Regions from separate parts of the Homo sapiens genome. Here region 2 is linked to region 1. Evidence: promoter capture Hi-C in human tissues and cell types (Jung and others, 2019). All regions are on one chromosome and are shown on one strand. The core of a region is centred on a gene start or on the middle of the fragment in contact, and the rest is flanking DNA. Distances in the headings are between cores, read along the strand shown.

Region 1 (5,620 bases), core at 2,638-5,137:
CCATCTGGGAGAACAGGAACCCCTTCTCTCTCACGGTTGTACTCCCAGAGAGGAGCTCAATTCCCAGCACATGGCAGATGCGCACTAATATTTGGTGAGTGAATAAATGGACATTCAGTGCCACAGGGCCTGTGACCAGGCTGGGCTGAGGCCAGAGGGAACGCCATCCCACCTGCAAGCCTGCTCGACCTCTCCAGACCCAGGATGGGAGCATCGAGGAAGAACTACAACTGCCAGCACCACCCCAGCCCCAACTTCAGTCATGGCCACTCCTCAGATAATAGGTCACTGAAGGGACCTCGGTTATGTAGGGACCCTGGTTATGCAGGGACCCCACTCCCTCCCTCCAGGTGCAGTGAATTGGAACACTGGCACTCTGAAAATGGAATGTTATGAACATTGGGTGCTCTGGATGTTGGGTACCCCAGGCCCCCTGGAATTTGGCACTGGGGGCTCTGGGTTTTGGGTCCTCTACAGTGTTGGGTGCTCTGGCACCCTTGACATTGGGAATTCAGGACTTTGGGAGCTCAAAGCGATTGAGGAGTCTGGGTGTTGAAAGCTCTGGAGATTGGGGCTGCCCCTTGGACAACGCCAAAGTCAATACTTCCTGTCTATATGCCTGATTTTACCTGGAGCCACTGAGGTCCAGCCCGGAACCCCTGTTCTGAACCCCATGATTGGCTTATGCTGCCCCAAGGCTGGGGTGGCAGGGCTGGGGTGGCGGGGTTTCAGGGGTAGAGAAACCACAACAGGATGGCCTAAGGGGTACCTGGAGCCCCAGAGACAGCTCTCAGGTCTGAAACCAATCTAACCTGCTCCTCTGCATTGGGACAGGGCAGTGGAGGTGCCAGGCACTGACCACTGGGCTCCAGGTTCAAGAAAGGAAGAATCTGAGAGCAGAGCCCAGGCAGGCACCTCCCAGTAATGCTTCCTGGCTACTGAGGCTGGGGTTCTAAGGAGGTGGAGACCCCTGGCCAGGCCTGGCTTCAACTACAGGCAATGTCCACCCTCCCCCACCTTCTCAGCAGGCCCCCAGCACCACTCCATCAAGGTGCCCAGTGCTGCCAGCTCCTGCAGTGACCACCAGAAGTGGCCCAAGTCTGGCATTATTCATATTCCTACTAGACACACACCTAAGCTGACTATGTGCATCTCGAAACAGAGGCCTTGATCCTGCAGGCTGATGACACCACTCGAGGAAACCAGCCAGCCCTGGGGGCTCTGACGCTGGATGCAGCCCTCCCAGGAAATAGCTCCACTGGCTGCAGTAACTGGAGGCTCCTGAGCCACATTTCAGCCTGCAGTGGGTGGTGGGTGGGCCCCAGCCCAACTGCTGCCCTGCCCCAGGAAGAAGCAGGCCCGTCAAAATGTCTGACCCCGTCCGTCCCCCATCCCCTCCCCTGCCCCAGTCTGTCCTCAGTCCTGATCCCCCTGCCCGCCCCACAGTGGCCCAGGCTGGCCATGCCCTTCCCACCCTGCAGGCCAGCTGCTCAGAGCCAGGGGCTCACAGCCAGGGACGGAGGCTATCCCAGCTCCCACCCGGGCTGGGCCCAAACCTGCCTCCTTTGGGCCTCATTCTGATTGGAAAAAAACAGCCTCTCTAGTCCCTGTCTCAGGAAGATGACTTTTCAAACCAGAATCTTTCTCACAAGTGTCTCCTCAGGACACAGCTGTGTGGTTTCCTGAAGCTCTTTCTGGTTCAAGGTGGGTAAAACACACATATCCATGAATCTGTTTCTATGTATACAAATAGACTTTGAGCTATGCCAGTGTTAGTCTAATAAAGCCCTCTGGCCAACATCCCCAATCTCCCTAAACACTCCAAGGAAAATTTTCTCTTCACCCCACGTCCCTGTCCCTAGGTTAGTCCCCAAGCCTTCCTCTTTCTGACGGAGCCTCAGAGGGCTGGCCCCTGAGCACCCATCCTCCTCTCTTCTAACAGCCCAGGCCCCAAGCCCCTAGGCCTGAGGGCATCCTGGAAGTCTGGCTTGCAGCACCCTACACCTGCCTCCCTTCATATGGATTCCCTGAGCCATGAAAACTCTCGGAATCTTCACTGAGTGTTCTTAGCGCTCAGTGCCCTCTTCTAGGCCTGTCCCCACCCCAGCCTACTGCTGGAAGGGAGAAGGAGGGAGGCCTTTTCCCCTTCATACTCTTCCTTGTCCGCCTTCCTCTACTTGGGGGCCTCTTCGACATCCTCCATCTGCCTTCCCTGGGGTGGTATCCCTTTTGATGAGCCCCAGCGAGGAGGCAAGGAGGAAGATCCTAAAAAAAACTTATGGAGGAAGTTACGTCCTGGCAGGAGAGATATAGAGGGCTTGGACCCCATCTGCCCAGTCCCAGGAATTGAGCACACACATAACTACACAGACCTGCTGCAGTGCACACAATCAGTCTTCCACAGATGTACCTACACAAATACACAATCGGGGCTCAGGTGTCTGGGGGCACAGACACAACAGGTTGCCTAGATCCAGGTGTGTGTGCACACAACTCACGCAAGAAACACCTGCACTTGGCTTGTAGGAGACTAAAAATCCCAAACATGCTATACCTACTAGGTTTGGGGACAAAGTAAAAGTGAAAATAATCTCGCTGATAAGACTAAGGTGTCTTCCCAGATCTGATCAGGAGTCCAATGTGAATAGGAGACAACAGAGAGCTGTCTTTGTACTTTGGCTCTGAGGAAGGTTTGTGGAATGGACCGCGTGTGGCCTGAGAGAGCTCGCATTTCAGGGAATGCCTGGGCTTGATGCCTGTTATCTTGTTCAGTGCCTCTGATAAATTAATAAACTGGAATCTCACTCAACAATTGGTTTCACGTGAGTTTGGCATGTGTGCACTCGCTTCTTGGAGGCTGACTGTCCCAAGGAAAAAAATTAAACTGTTTCCTGGCCAGAAAATGGTGAGGACTCAGGGTCCAAAGTAGAAATTGCCTCTGTGGGCTGGGCCCCTTCCCTGAGCAGATGCCCTACTCAGGTTGGGGCAAAAACCAGTTCCTCTGACAGAACTAACTGGCCACTCTCCATGAAAGGTGGTGGCTCTCACAAGGTATGCAAATGTGGGAGGCTCATTCCAAATGCCAGCCACCACTCCCCAGAGGCAGCCTGGAGCAATGGGCTTTATATACACACACATGCATTTCCTTAGCCCCTTCTCTCTGTTTCACAGAGGAGGAAACCGAGGCTCACCATGCTCCTTTTGGCAAAGACTCTTTTTTAGCTGAGATTGTAACCCAGGTCTGTCTCACCATGGAAGGAGGAGGGATCCCAGGTTGGTGTCTGCAGCCCCTGTAACACCACCTCAAAAGTAGAGCTGACCAAGCCGGTGGTCCAGGAGGGAAATTTGAGAAAGGGCTACCCCGAGCCCTCCAGTTCCAAGGAGTAGGACCTAGGCCTTACCCAGCAATGCCCACAGTCTCTAGCGGCTCTGCTCCAAAGGGAATGGAATTTGCTCTGACTTCTCTCTAGGGGAAACGCAGGCGCAGAAGGCCAGGGGCCTGGAGGGCTAACTCCAGCCTCAGCCCCCCATAGTGCCCCAGGCCTTCTGGCTTCATTCCAGCCTAGCCCGAAGGGGCCCACATCTGCTTGCTCAAGGGCCCCAGCTGGAGGGCAGCGAGGCAGGGGCGGAGAAGGGGACTCCTTTGTGGCGCTCACTCCCAGGGGTTCGTGGGGATCAATCATCTGAAAGCTGGAGAGACTTGTAATTTTATTCCCTGGGAGGAGGAGCCTGAGAAGTCGGCACGGGAGGAGGGGATGGGATGGAGAGGGGAGGACGGCCAGGGGAGCCGTTCGGGTAGGGGAGGGACTTGGCTAGATCTCCCAAGCCTTCTCCACTCTTCAAACTTTCACCAAACTCTTAGCCCCCGCCTCCCCGAAACCAAAACACAACAGGCTGTGGAAGAGCTGCGAGCGGCGCGGCGGGGCGGGCGAACTCGGCGCGGCACAGAGCCTCGGGAGGCTGATGCAACTTTCCCTTTAAGAAAGCCACCTGGGCGCACCGCGGTGCGGACCCAGCACGCCTGGGCCGGGGGCTGCAGCATGGTAAGGGGGCTGGGGGAAGGGACGCTGGGGCCCGCGCCTCCGTCTGTCCTGCCGTCGGTCTGAGTGTTCGGCGGCTCCGCGGGGCTGAGCCCCAGGACCAGCGTGTGCGTGTGTGTGTGTGTGTGTGTGTGTGTGTGTGATCGCGCATGTATGCGGGCATCTGTGGGTAAGAGTGTGGGTGCACGCACCGGGATGTCTGTCTCGCCGCAAAGATCGGGGTAGGTGCGCGCGTCTGGGTGTCACCGCTGTCACCAAGGAGCTGAAGCGGGAGGGAGAGGGAAGTGGGGGGAGCTCCTGCGTGGGGTGGCGGGGGGGCGCCAGACGCCGGTTCGATCGGGGGCGGCGGGCGCAGGCTGTGCGGGTAGCGCCGGAGCCAGAGCGTGGCACTGTCCGTCCGAGGAGCCAGTGGTTCTGCGCTCTGGGGGCCTGCAGGGGTCGACAGTCGGCCGTGCCTGCACCCAGCGTGCGGGCTCCCGCTCGCTCCATCGCCTCTCAGCGCCCGCCAGCCTGGCTGCCTATCTGGCCCCTCCAGCCGGCCTGCCTCCCTATCTGCCCTCCCGGTGCCGGTTCCAGTGCCCGTGCGCCCGCGGGACCCGGGAAGCCGCGCGGGAGAGTCCTGGCGCACTCAGCCTCTCTTTGTCCGCGCTCTGGCCGCGGCTTTGGGAAGGGACTGCGAGCGAGCCGGGAGTTCTCTGGGGGTTGCTACCCTGGGAAGAATCCGTGCCCTCCCCACCCCAACCCTCATTACCGGCACACCTAGGGCGGGGCCGGGCGGCCGCAGGTGAGGGCAGGGGCCTAGCAGCCCTGGAGAGCCCACCCCCGGCCGGCGCTCCGCACCCGGCAGCCACTGCAGATCTCGAGCAGGCGGCGGGGCCGGGCCGGGCGGGAGAGTGGGGCTTGCCCGGAGGGCCGGGAGGGGCCGGTGCCGGCCCGGGGGCGGGGCCGTGGGGCGGGGACCTCGGCGCCCCGGTACTTTTCCACCGCAGGGGCCGGGGGCGGGGCCGCCGCCTCCACGCCAGCTTAGGCCCACACGTGGCGGCTGATGTAACGCCCGTGCCCCCACATCTCTCTCCCCGATTAAAGCGGACGCGCCCCACTTCGAGGAACCGGGACGCTGCGGGCGGTGCCGCTGCTCCCAGACCGACCGCGCCCCTGCCCGCCGGCCGGAGGCCTCCGCGCCTCGGGCCGGCGGATACTTAAAGGAGCCGCACCCCCTTTCGGGCCTGCTCTCCGCAAGCCACACCCCCTCGCGGATCACTCTTAAAGGAGACGGGACGCTTGCTCGCTGACAGCTTCCGCACAAAGCGCGGTCTATTTCTCCGCTGAAAGGAGCGTGAGGGTGCGGCCGTTGGGAAATAAAGGCTGCAGGGCGAGGAGTGGGGAAAGAGAAAAACCTGAAAGGTTAAAGACTGCCAAAGTGAGGGAGCATCAGAAGGTTGGAGAGTAGTGGGTGAGGGGACTGGTTCTAGGGACTAATGGGCGACACTGAGCATGCCCAAGTGTTTCCAAGGACCGCAGAGAAAACGCCCCCTTTACTTGGCCTATGCGGCGACTGCGGCTGTACCTGCTCAGTTCCC
Region 2 (5,754 bases), core at 1,055-3,554, 290 kb before region 1:
CAGGGGCTGCTGGGAGGGGAATTTTGGAATCCTTGGTGCTCTATATAGGCCACTTAGAGAAAGCATAGGGCTTATCAATCCTTAAGGCAAGTGCACACTAGACCTAGCAGTTAGGTTTTATGAAGTCTGCCACTCCACTCAGGTCACTGTTGTTACTGGGGACCCAGGGAGAGCAGTGGCTTAGTCTACCCCTGCTTCCCCAGCATCCCTTCCTGGTGACCGGCACTTGGAGACCAGGAGCAGAATGGCATTTCTGGGGTTCAAGTTCTTTCCAGTTCAGTTTTCCTTAGGGCCCCTTGGCAAGAGGTAAAGATTTCAGCCACTTGGAAGGCAGGGTTATGTTCAGGCCTTCTTAGCTTTCTGGCATTGTTACTCTGTCCTCCTGTAAAGTGGTCCTGTGTGAAGCGTAGGTTGAGTTTGTCGAAGGTACATTCTGTCACCGAGGGAAGAGAAGAGTGGTCTCAGTGAAGCATGAGACCTGGCTGGCCAAGGCTGAAATCTGCTTATCCTAGGTGGGTACTGTACTTGGCCTCCTTGTCAGCAGGTTAGTATTGGTTGCATTTTACAGATTGTGAAACTGGGCCTAACTGAGATTTTAATGATTGCTGGAGGCTCAAAAGAGCCATTGGCAGAGGGGAGGAGCCCCTGCAAGTTCTAACTCCCAGAACTGTGTGAAGTCTTCTGTGGCTACTTTTCCCTGTGACATGTCATGTAATGCACTCAGTGGTGGCCAACAGGCTGTGGTGCAATCAGGGGTTAAGAATGTGTGGTAGCAGGGGTGATGAGAATCTTTTAAGAGTCTGGGGCTGAGGTACATTAGAGACTTTGTGCCTTCATTTAGAGACCTATCTTCTACATGTGAATGAAATAGGTGAAAAAGGGTTCTTGAGTTATCCCAAACAGTCTCCTTGGTAAGAAGGCTGGGGATGAGCCTGTTTGACCCTGGTGGGCCCTGAGGCTGACTTAGCCCAGACAGGAGGTCTCGAGGTTGCTCCTGAATTCGATGCCAGTGTTTGCCAGCTGACCCAGGTGGGGCTTTTGTTGCAGGCATCCATCTGCCAAGGCGCCTAGCCTCTTAAGCCTTTTGTTATTCCAACTAATGATGTTGGGTTCTGGTTTTCGCCTTCCTCTGCCGGGGTTTCCCCTTTCCCCTGGGATTTACCTATACCACCAGGGGGCGCTAATCTGACTTTTCTGCCCTTTTTGAAAAATCACCATTTTAATGATGATGAAAATTCCCTTGCTTATGCGAAGGGAAGGAAAGACTTTCTTTAAGCCAGCCAGTTACCTGAGCCCTCCACTGGCCTTGAAAGGCTAATGTCCTCTTGTCCTTACGTAGACAGGCAGGCCCAAATTTTAGTAAGTTTGCTACCTGTTTAGGAATGTAACAGTATTCTGCTGGAGCTGGACCCTGGGCAGGAGTGGATGCTTGAGAGTATCGGAAGAAGAGGGACTTCTTTTAGAGTAAGGCTGCTGCTGCTACTTTTTGTGGGAATGGGAGGAGGGATTGTGAGACTATGATGAACAGTTTCTTCTCTCTAGAAAGCTTCACCCAAGGATGCACATACATAATTTGGAGGGGAGTAGGAGTGGTAGTTGGGATCTTTATTATGAAGGCTGTTCTAAAAGTGAAAATGTGGTTGTTCTGTAGGCACCGGGTCTGCCATTTTGTCTCAGGTTTCCAGAGCTCAAAACTCGCCATGATCTTGTCCATCCTTTTTTGGCCAGCCTCATATCTCTCTGCTTCATCTCCCACCTAGCTCCCCTCACCCAGAGGTTGCCCTCTTACAGTCTGTCTTTTCACATGATGGTCCTCCTGCCTGCACAGAGTTCCCACTCTCCCCGCCAACTCCTGCTTGACCTCCAGGACTCTGCTTAGGGTCACTTTCCCTGATCCCCAGATTGAGTTGTGCTTATTCCAACATAGAACTGATCAGATACTTTATACTATAATTATTTATCTGTCTTTTCACTAGACTATAAGTTCTTTGAGGGAAGAAACTAGACCTGATCCATCTCCATCCCATCATTAGGGTCTGCTACCAAGTAAACACTTGATACGTGTCCCTTAAATGAATGAATATTGTCAAGGAGTTATTTTCTGTCTCTCCCAAAAACAACTGTACTGCTGACTTGTTATTTTGAGTAAGTAAGTAAAGTCTTGTTTGGAAAACCTCAGATCATATATATTTTGCCCTGTCTCCATACCAGATGGAATTGTATCTCCGAGAGGCATAGACACAGGATGGGGGCTGTCATTCTGAAACCTCATCCAACCTGGCAGTTGGTGCCTTTTGCGGGTGGGGATGGAGGTCATTCCAACCAGAGAAAATCTCTCATTAGTAAGTGTGAGGAACAGTCCCAAACCTCCAGATTATACTTAAGTAGTTCCTCTGGCAGGATTTTCTCTCTTGTGCACAAGAAGTTCTTAACCCCAGTGTGTGTGTGTGTGTGTGTGTGCACGCACATGCGTATGACATGTGCACACACATGGGCACATGCTTGGGGAGAGAAGCAGGCTCAGTGCTGGACAGTAGGAAGAAGGATTCCAGTTTGAACAAGTCTCTAGCACACACAGAGAGACTCCTACTTTTACTGCTTCATATTAGGAATGTGTTAGTACCCTTCTTGAGGTCCCTTCTTAGTTTCAGTTGAGAGTCGGCCTGGAGACGTGGTTCTGACAGAGATAGGATGGGATGTGTTTCATTCCTTCCCGAGCCCTTTCCCTTTGACCTCTAGAATCTGCTCCAGTTCATCAAGTCTCTATCTCTAGCAGCTGGGCTGCTGCACAGTCCCTAACCATGTCTTCTTTTTGTTGTTGTTATCATGAAAAAAAAACTAGAGAAATACTCATTTTGCTAAGTGCCAGTAAAGGGCTTTGTCTTGCACCTGTACTTATAAAGGGTGAGATTTATTGGTCTCTTTGTCTGAAGAGAAAGAGTGGGTCTGATTATCAGATTGCACACCAGAGACAAGTGCTTATGTAATCAACAAACTGTCTTGGTGTCAGAATACGATTGTGTTGGAGATAAACTGTGAAAGGAGAAAGCACTGGATGCTGACATGCTATTGGCACTGAGTTTCCTGGGCTGCTTCCTGTAGTTGCTAGTGTTCTTGATGAAGCCAGCTCATTCCTGGACAAAGCCCTTGTGAGGGTAGGGGATCTCAGTAACCAGCCATGTTATCAGTCAGGGTCAAAAGCCCCTTGCCTTGTGGTTTCTGAGTCTGGAGAAGTGGGAGTTAATCTGTAATCCCTCATTGAAAGGAGCCACAGAGCACACATTAATTCTTCCTCTCACCTCTCCTGCTTTAAGTGGCTAAGGTCTCTGAGCTCTGTTTAGCCTGTGAGCCCTGGTTCTCAGCTTAGTAATACTTGGCTTTGCTCTAGTACCTTTCATTGTAAGGAGTGAAAGCTTTTTACAAACATGTATTAACCCAAGTGGGACTGGGCTTAAACTGTAACATGAAGGATTTAAGTTAGGCCTAAGATAGAACTTCCCAGTATTAATTTGATAAAATTGTCTCGTTCCCTCATAGCATCCTGTATAAACCTTACACGTGTCTTATAGGTCATTAGTATCAGGTAGAGGAACTAATTTTTACTTAAAAAAAAAAAAAAAAGATGGGGTCTCTCTATGTTGCATAAGCTGGTCTCAAATTCTTGGGCTCAAGCAGTCCTCCTGCCTTAGCCTCCCAAAGGGCTGGGATTGCAGGCTGAGCCACCATGCCCAGCCCAGAACTAACTTTAATTTCATCCCTTCTTTGTCCAGTGCCTTGGCAGAGCTGAAAAGGGGTGGTCCATCCTTGGAGGGATTAATACAGGAGCCTGAGGCCTTCCCTGAGAAGGCTTTGTCTAGCTGAGCCAACTGCTCAAGCCCCTGTGTCTCTGGGGGCTAAATGCAAATCCTTGAGGAGCTCAGCTGTGAGCCATGCTTTACTGAGCCACAAATGAAAATGGCTGTTGTCTGGGAAGCATGGTGAGAGAAGGAGCTGACCTCACTAGGCTCCTCCCAGGCTGATGATTCTAGGATCACTGAGCACTGGAGTGGAGTTTGTGAAAGCCCCAGGATGCTGGAGCTCCATTTCCCCAGCTCCAGGTGGGAGAGTTGGGTTTAGTCTGCAGTGAGGCATCCTGCAGCAGAACACCAGAGCAGCACCCTGGTTTTCCATTTTGGTGTAGTGATTTTCTTGCCCCACATCAGTGATTTTCCTGGGGCCCAGGGCAGGGGCTTATGGGGTACACACAGGTGCTGACCTAAGCCTTATCTCCAGGGAGGGAGGGCTCTTGGCAAGGGTGCATTGCTTTCCTGTGTGAGTGAGACTTTCTTTAAGCCCTTGGCATTCAGCTCATTTGAGAGACCCTTGGTGGGAGCCAAGAGAAGGAGTGGACCTAACCTTGCCGCCTGAAACTCAGACCAGACACAAGACTAACATTTGGACCCTGGAGCTTCCTAAGAAGTGAGAGTGGCTGTGGTCCGCCTTTTCCAGGATGGTCCTGATGTTGAGCCTCAGCTCCAGGCCTGAAGATGTGTCTAAGCCCTAGGCTTAACAGGAGAGAAGCTGGACCAGAATGGGCAGCGGTGGGCCTGTGGGTGTCTGTCACTAATCTGGGGTTGGTAATAAGCCTCCTCCTGACTCTCTTTGGCCCCTTCATGCCTGAGGCAAAACAGGGCAACTGCCTGCTCGGTTTGCGGCTCTGGAAGATGTAGAGGCTCTCGGTACTAGTTGGGGCTGGGTGTAGGAGGGGGCTGCTGAGAACATGTATTCCATGAGGGCAGAGTTTTTACATTTTTCTTCACTGCCGGATCTCTAGTTCCTGTAATGCGGCCCAGCCCGTAGTAGGCTTTCTATGAATAGTTGTTGACTAAATAAAAGGAGGAGTCCTTTGTACTCCAAGATTATTGAAGCTGCTGACTGAGGGCACTTCCCCACTCCCAGCCCCCCAGCCCTTAGCGGACCATCTTTTCTTCTCTTTGACTCAGGCCCTCCCTCTACTGGGCAGTTCTTTGGTCTTCCAGGCAAGGAAAGGGTGTGGAGGTGCCAGCCGGGTGGGCATGCTGTGGGTTAAAGCTTTGCAAAACAACAGTGTAGTTAATCTTTCTAATTTATTTTCCTTTTAGACCATGGGAAGTCTGTAGGCAGCAGCTGTTACCCAATTAAAATACAGATTAATATAAAAACAGTTTCTGGAATATAAAATAGAGTGGCTGTGTCCTTACACTTCCTTAAAATACCACCTAATAATGACTTGATGAACTACAGAAACCCACCTAGAGGAGCTCAGCGTTTTTAAAATGAAAATTTCTCCCTAAAAGGTGTATATTACCATTCCATGTAAGTCACCATGAGAAAATAACCTTCCCTTTTAGAGCCAGCAATTTCTGTGAGTTGGGTATTTGGTATTCATTAAGTGTAATTATAGTTTAATTGGAGTTTAATCTCCCCCCCCCCAACACACTTTAAAAAAAAGAAGTTTCCAAGCAAGTCTGAGATACTGCTCTTTCTGGAAGTAGCCAGGGACATGCTGGGGGTGGTGATTTCCAGTTGGTGTCCAGGACATGGGGGCCTCATGCCCTCAGATCCTTGTAGGCAATCTATCCCCAGTCTTTTTTTTTTTTTACTTTAAACCAAACCAAAACAAAGCAAAACAACAAGCTTGTTTGAACCCAGGCCTGACCTAGGTGGAGCATAGGCCTGAGTCAGAAATTCTCTAGGTCATAGTCTGAACATTAGGCCTTTTTGTCTTAGTTTCCC

The links. Contacts are between HindIII fragments. The study calls those that stand out against the background at their distance.
Region 2: a fragment that was not itself captured here is called in contact with the fragment with the promoter of SLC6A9 in region 1 in 1 of the 25 tissues and cell types used here (bladder).

The regions. Positions count from the first base shown.
Region 1 is chr1:44,029,729-44,035,348 of GRCh38, reverse strand. SLC6A9 (solute carrier family 6 member 9) reads left to right here and starts at 3,887. Exons shown (of 14, transcript NM_001024845.3): 1 at 3,887-4,043. LOC107984948 (a long non-coding RNA gene) reads right to left here and starts at 4,935. Exons shown (of 2, transcript XR_007066054.1): 1 at 4,800-4,935. LOC124904168 (a long non-coding RNA gene) reads left to right here. Exons shown (of 4, transcript XR_007066055.1): 2 at 1-94; 3 at 1,029-1,704; 4 at 2,622-2,806. RefSeq lists enhancers at 1-638, 4,157-4,753, 5,395-5,620 and silencers at 4,346-4,415, 4,736-5,285. The HindIII fragment of the contact is 16,348 bases long and covers 1-5,620 here.
Region 2 is chr1:44,313,851-44,319,604 of GRCh38, reverse strand. The region is part of intron 4 of ERI3 (ERI1 exoribonuclease family member 3); the gene reads left to right. Among named protein-coding and RNA genes, the nearest start is that of ERI3, 39 kb to the left of the region's middle. RefSeq lists an enhancer at 4,781-4,950. The HindIII fragment of the contact is 6,119 bases long and covers 1-5,363 here.